2 separate regions of the Homo sapiens genome follow, and region 1 is linked to region 2. The links are contacts of gene promoters, found by promoter capture Hi-C in blood cells and fetal thymus (Javierre and others, 2016). All regions are on one chromosome and are shown on one strand. Each heading gives the region's core, a stretch centred on a gene start or on the middle of the fragment in contact. The rest is flanking DNA. Distances are from core to core; before and after follow the strand shown.

Evidence for each region. Contacts are between HindIII fragments. The CHiCAGO score rates a contact against its expected background, and 5 or more counts as called.
Region 1: a contact is called between a fragment that was not itself captured here and the fragment with the promoter of SNUPN in region 2, in 8 of 17 cell types (naive CD4 T cells, activated CD4 T cells, total CD4 T cells and 5 more). The highest score is 12.0, in naive CD4 T cells.

Annotation. Positions count from the first base shown.
Region 1 is chr15:75,505,954-75,509,513 of GRCh38, reverse strand. It overlaps PTPN9 (protein tyrosine phosphatase non-receptor type 9), which reads left to right. Exons shown (of 13, transcript NM_002833.4): 6 at 487-597; 7 at 3,511-3,560. Among named protein-coding and RNA genes, the nearest start is that of SIN3A, 56 kb to the right of the region's middle. The HindIII fragment of the contact is 2,620 bases long and covers 610-3,229 here.
Region 2 is chr15:75,624,024-75,627,417 of GRCh38, reverse strand. It overlaps SNUPN (snurportin 1), which reads left to right and starts at 1,693. Exons shown (of 9, transcript NM_005701.4): 1 at 1,693-1,752. RefSeq lists an enhancer at 1,325-1,514 and a silencer at 2,165-2,214. The HindIII fragment of the contact is 10,585 bases long and covers 1-3,394 here.

The DNA.
Region 1 (3,560 bases), core at 670-3,169, 120 kb after region 2:
TTTTACCATGTTGGCCAGGCTGGTCTTGAACTCCCAACCTCTGGTGATCCACCCACCTCGGCCTCCCATAATGCTGGGATTATAGGCATGAGCCACCGCACCTGGTCGAGAAATGTTTAATGTTCAGTTTATTCATGATCTCATTTTTCCTTCAAGTTTTAATAACATAACTTTTTTAAGAGGCATATATGTATGCTGATGTGTGGTATGTGTAGGATATCTGTTGAGATGAGAAGTCAGAATAGTTTTTGATCCATAAAGCTTACGGTAGACAAGAACTTAACATTGTTATTTTTAAAGGTAAATCAGCTTCTAATTTCTTCAGTTTGTTTAACCACTTTTCCTCTAGCTGCTGAGATCAAACCTGAATTAGGCTGTAGACTCCCCCTGCTGGGTAAGAATGGGGAGAAGAGCAGAAAACCTAAACTTGGGCTTGAAGAGTCACAGGTTCCATTACACTTAAATCCTCATGTGTTTTCTCCACAGGGAGCATTTCCAGCTCGTTTGAAGAAGGTGCTGATTGTGGGGGCACCCATATGGTTCCGAGTGCCCTATTCCATCATCAGTCTCCTCCTGAAGGACAAAGTCCGGGAGAGGGTAAGGCAAGCTTGCCCTTTTTTATCTGGAGGTGAATAGATACAGTGAATTCCTGCCAATTAATTTTCTACCTTCAAAAAATCCTCCTGGCGTGTCTTCTAGAGCCTGTTCTGCTTCTGTTAGTGCATTCACTTATATTCTCTACCTGATGCATTAGTCAGTTCAATACAGACTGCCTCTCTTACTGTCCTACGAGCTTCTTGAAGTTCAAAACTAAACACAGTTTATCTGGTTCTCACTTTCTATAGCACCTTGCATAAGATAGTACTGAAGGAACGTGTCCTGGAGGTAACTTAGGGATAGCTGCTACTTCCAAAATTTATCCTAGTGCTGCATAGGCCTTTAATATTTAACAGCTTGTAATATAACTGCATTAGTTGAACTGGCATTAGAATTTGTTCAACTGGAAACATCATTCAATCCCTTGACCACCAGGGTTGTGGAGGAAAGTTTTTCGTTATGTCTCTTTCTACATTTATTCCTGGCATTTTTTTTTCTCAGAATACCTTGTTGCTTCCCAATTTCAAAAGCGTTCAAAATTACTTTAATTCTGGGCCAAGTGTAATGGCTCATGCTTATAATACTAACACTTTGGGAGTCCGAGGCCAAGGCGGGAAGATCGCTTGAGGCCAGGAGTTTGAGACCAGCCTAGGCAACACAGTGAGACCCCGCCGCCACAATAAAACCAGAAACTTTAATTCTGTTATAATCTCCTGCGTGTTCCATGATTAAAAGATTTATGGTCTCAGTTACTGATTGCAGCAATTAAAAGACAGGACATGAAAGTGAAAACATTTGGTTCTGTGGAAGCTGCTTAGAGACCTAATGACGCAGAGTAGGAGAGAGCTTTTCTTTTTTTTTTTTTTTTTTTTTTTTTGAGAGTGTCTCACTCTGTTGCCTAGGCTGGAGTGCAGTGGCACGATCTTGGCTCACTGCAGCCCCGCCTCCTGAGTTCAAGCGATTCTTCTGCCTCAGCCTCCTGAGTAGCTGGGAGTACAGGCGCACGCTACCACACCCAGCTAATTTTTGTATTTTTAGTAGAGACGGTGTTTCACCATATTGGCCAGGCTGGTCTCGAACTCCTGACCTCATGATCCGCCCACCTCAGCCTCCCAAAGTGCTGGGATTACAAGCGTGAGCCACCTTTTTTGAGACGGAGTCTCGCTCTGTCTCCCAGGCTGGAGTGCAGTGAAGCGATCTCGGCTCACTGCAAGCTCCGCCTCCCAGGTTCAAACCATTCTCCTGCCTCAGCCTCCCTAGTAGCTGGGACTACAGGCGTGTGCTGTCACGCCCGGCTAATTTTTTGTGTTTTTAGTAGAGACGGAGTTTCACTGTGTTAGCCAGGATGGTCTTGATCTTCTGACCTCGTGATCCACCCACCTCAGCCTCCCAAAAGTGCTGGGATTACAGGCATAAGCCACCGTGCCCAGCCAGGAGAGATCTTTTCTTTCTTTTTTTTTTTTTTTTTTTGCGACAGAGTTTTGCTGTTGTCGCTGAGGCTAGAGTGCAATGGCATGATCTTGGCTCACTGCAACCTCCGTCCCCCGGGTTCAAGTGATTCTCCTGCCTCAGCCTCCCAAGTAGCTGGGATTACAGGCTCCTGCCAACATGCCCAGCTAATTCTTGTATTTTTTTAGTAGAGATGGGGTTTCACCATGTTGGACAGGCTGGTCTCAAACTCCTGACCTCAGGTGATCCACCTGCCTCAGCCTCCCAAAGTGCTGGGATTATAGGCATGAGCCACCGTGCCAGCTGGAGAGATCTTTTCTAAGGTAACTCTTTGAGAGGAATCCATAGGCAAGTTCTTGCACTTGAATTATAGGAATTATACATGCATGTATAAACTCAAAATATATTAAGCACTTTTTGTAGTCGAAGCACTGGTTCCTGATAATTAAAAATTAAGTGAGACAGTCTACCCTCAAGGAGCTCATGGTCTTGATAGGGAACACAGAGATACACATAGGAGGACTTTGGCTCTGCAGGAACGCAGAGGAGCATATGGCCTCAGGCAGTCAGGAAAGACTTCACAGAAGAGGTGAGCTGTGCTGGTCCATGAAGAGGCAGAGGAGGAAAGGAAGGCATTCCAAGAAGAGGCGACAGCAAAAGAGATGAGCTTTTAGGAGGAAGAGAATCCCCATTCCACAGAGATCCTAAGGAGAACCAGTTAAGCTAATTAGTTCCAGCATGGCTATGTCCAAGCAGAGAGCAGAATTAAGTTTTATGGTTACTACAAAAAATTAGCTGGGCGTGGTTGTGTGCATCTGTATTCCCAGCTACTTGAGGGGCTGAGGTGGAAGGATCACTTGAGCCCAGGAGGTTGAGGCTGCAGTGAGCCTTCATCACGCCACTACACTCCAGGCTGGGTGAAAAAGTGAGACCCTGTCTCAAAAAAAAAGTGTTATCTCACATTTTTCCTGGGCTACCCTGCCTCTGGGTGTCTTGCTTTCATAGAATCCTATCTTTGTGAACAGTTATACCAAGCTGAGTAAAATACAAGCTAACAGGCCTTAGAATTGGTTGTCTGAGTATGGGGTTGACAAAAATAACTACTACCTATGCATTCTTAGTGGCCAAAAAAAGAGTACCAGCATGCAGCGATGCTGGGAAGCCTTGTTAATAATATAAAGCTTTTGTTCACTACATCGTCCTTTCAGAAGATGTATAACAGTGTCCCTAATTCCAGGAGTGAATTTTATATACATTCTGGGAGTTCACACTTTTATCTGGCAAATTCATAGGACTTAAATCTCAGGCAGATGAAATGTAGTCTACTACTTTTACAAGTATACCTTGTATTTCAAGAAAATCTTATCCCATCCTCCAAACCTGATATAAATACATTTATTCTTTGTCACTCTATATGCCTTTCCCTCCTCCCACATACTCACATGGTTCTTTCTAACCTTCCAGATTCAAATATTAAAGACATCTGAGGTCACGCAGCATCTGCCCAGGGAGTG
Region 2 (3,394 bases), core at 444-2,943:
AAATACCTAATATCCTGGGTGTCAAAATTCCCTAGTGAAGTCAGGCCCTGGACTTCTCTTTTTTGTCAGTCTCATAAATCAGGCAGACATGAGCTTTTATTTGTGGATGCACCAAATAAATACCCTAGTGGACAGCTTTGCTCAGCCTGGCCACTGAAAGAGCCACCTAAATAAAATCTCAGGTCCAGGCCGGGTGCGGTGGCTCACGCCTTTAATCCCAGCACTTTGGGAGGCCGAGGCGGGCAGATCATGAGGTCAGGAGATCGAGACCATCCTGGCTAACACAGTGAAACCCCGTCTCTACTAAAAATACAAAAAAATTAGCCGGGCATGGTGGCAGGCGCCTGTAGTCCCAGCTACTCAGTAGGCTGAGGCAGGAGAATGGCGTGAACCCGGGAGGCGGAGCTTGCAGTGAGCGGAGATTGCGCCACTGCACTCCAGAGCCTGGGCGACAGAGCGAGACTCCATCTCAAAAAAATAAAAAAAAATCTCACGTCCAGAAAAATTGGCCTTCCAGGGCCCCAGAACCCTTTTTACCAGTCTAGTAATAGCCTTTCATCAGCCTAATTTCCTATTCTTTTTAGTCTGAATGTATGGTGTAATGTGCATAAAATACACAAGTCCAAATTTTAGCATTCCGTGGACGCAAAATGTGCCAAAGGTGGATACTTTGCTTCTGTCATACATCGGTAGTCAACTTCCCTATACATCAAACTTTCAGCAAATTCAAACATTTTCCTTGAAAGCTGTGTTACTTTGGCCAAATTACTTAACCTCTCTGAGCTTCAGTGTGTCTACTTCCTCATGTCATGATTAAGAGTTAATATCTACTGGCTTAAAAAAGAAAAAAAAGGAAAAAAATTAAATGAGATGATGGGTGTGAAGCAGGGATTGGCTGAATGTAAGCATTCAATAAATATTCAGTTTTAAAATTGTAATCTCAGCCTTCCCGCCCTGCAGAGGCTACACCCTGGCAGGACTTAATCTCCTAAATCTCTGCCGCTTACCCTAGTCTTTTGCACCAATTTAATCATTCCTTCACGCAGGGTCTACTGAGCGCCATCCCTTGTGCTGGACTCTGGCTACTTAAATAGGAATCAAGCCAGGTCCCTACCATTGCTCAGCCCGCAGCCGAGTGGGAAAGAAGCTCGCAAAAGCAGCAAACAGGCAGTAATCGAGGTATGTATCTGCTTTTGTTAAGGGCAAGTGGGGGAGCGAAGGTCTGTGTCTGAAACTTGGGTGTGAGGGGTTAGTTGGAGTAATCCAGGCAATTGGCACTGCCCGTTTAAGAGCACGGGCCCAAGAGGGGAAGGGGACTCCAGGTGAAGCCCTAAGGCCCGGGAAGATCTGCGGGAGGCGGCAGGGCCCAGGGCGTTGAATGCCCGGCCACAAGATCAGCCTCCTCCCATTGGCGAAAGGAGCCCCGAAGAGCTTGTGTTCAGGAGGGAGGCCTCGGCCTGGTCAAGTCATCTAGCAGGAAGAGTCCCGGACAGTGCAAAGCAAATGCAAGAAGACCCCCTCCCTAGCCGATGGGAAATGCCCCAGCCGTTGAAGGCGGAAATAACGGCCTGTAGGCAACGGAACTCCCAGCGTTCGCAAAGGAGGGAGGAGCCGGAAACTCAGGGCGCGAGGCCTGTGGGCCCAGCGGTGAGGCAGCAGCTGGGGGCGGGGGGAGGGCGGACCTAGCTTCCCAGGGCAGGTGATTCGTCGGCCCCGGTGGCGGCGGCGCGTGCGACGGTCACCTCGGTTTGGGTGAGTCCCTGGGTTCGAGCCCGGGCCCCGCCAGCTGCCGAGTTGCCTCTCGGTGCCGGACTGTGACTCCCTCTGGCCGGCCCTGCACTCTGGCCTCCTGGGACGTCATCTGGAGGGATAGAGCCAGGCCTGGGACTCCTTTTGGGAGAGTTTCCGTTCTTCTATTCCGTGCTGTCCGGCCAGGACCCCTCAGGGACTTCTGTGGGGCAGGGGCGAATCATGCATGGCCTAGATGACCCCATGCCTAGAAAAAGGCAGTGCGGGGCGGTGGCGGCGCGCACGGCCGAGTGAAGCAGATAGCGTCCCCGGGGCTGGAGCCCGGTAGCAGGGGTAGGGAAACGCGGAGGCTGCCAGGATGCGGACCCAGGGGACGCGAGGCGGGGGCGCCGGATGGGGAGACGCGAAGGAGGGGGAAGGGGATGGGGGAGGGGGCTAGACAGGGAGGGAGGGTGGAGCGTGGGCGGGGCCTGGGGCGGGTCGGACTTTAGGGAGTTGGAGCGGGGGTTACTGGTGCTAAGACCACCTGGGGCTAAGGTCCGAACACTTGGAGGCAGCACCATCCAAGGAATGGGTTGAAACAGCAGGAGCCCGGCGGGGCGCAGTGGCTCACGCCTGTAATCCCAGCACTTTGGGAGGCCGAGGTGGGCGGATCACCTGAGGTCAGGAGTTTGAGACCAGCCTGACCAACATGGTGAAACCCCATCTGTACTAAAAATACAAAAAAAATTAGCCGGGCGTTGTGGCGCGTGCCTGTAATCCCAGCTACTCGGGAGGCTGAGGCAGGAGAATCGCTTGAATCCGGGAGATGGAGGTTGCAGTGAGCCGAGATCATGCCACTGCACTCCAGCCTGGGCAACAAGAGCGAAACTCTGTCTCAAAAAAAAAACAACAACAACAAAGAAAAAACAAAACGAAACAGCAGGAACCCGCCAAGAACAGCCTTGAAGGAAGGTAAAGGAACCGCCCCAGTATCCAGGACATCAGTTTTTCTTTTTTTTTTCTTTTTGAGACGAAGTCCAGGCTGGAGTGCAGTGGCACGATCTCGACTCACTGCAAGCTCCGCCTTACGGGTTCAAGCCATTCTCCTGCCTCAGCCTCCCGAGCATCTGGGACTACAGGCGCCCGTCACCATGCCTGGCTAATTTTTTTGTATTTTTTTTTTTTTTTTTAGTAGAGACGGGGTTTCACTGTGTTAGCCAGGATGGTCTCGATCTCCTAACCTCAGGTGATCTGCCCGCTTCAACCTCCCAAAGTGCTGGGATTACAGGCGTGAGCCACCGCGCCAGGCCCAGGACATCAGTTTCAAAGGTTGTGTGGTTCTTGGCAGAGCGGGAGCCCACACCAAGATAGTGCATGATAGGCCTAATAAAGGTGCTTTGGATTTGGTCATTACTTTGGTGATGAACTGAAAACATAATGACTTTTTAAAAATTTTTATCGGCCGGGCGCGGTGGCTCACGCCTGTAATCCCAGCACTTTGGGAGGCCGAGGCGGGCGGATCACGAGGTCAGGAGATCGAGACCATCCCGGCTAAAACGGTGAAACCCCGTCTCTACTGAAAATACAAAAAATTAGCCGGGCGTAGTGGCGGGCGCCTGTAGTCCCAGCTACTTGGGAGGCTGAGGCAGGAGAATGGCGTGAA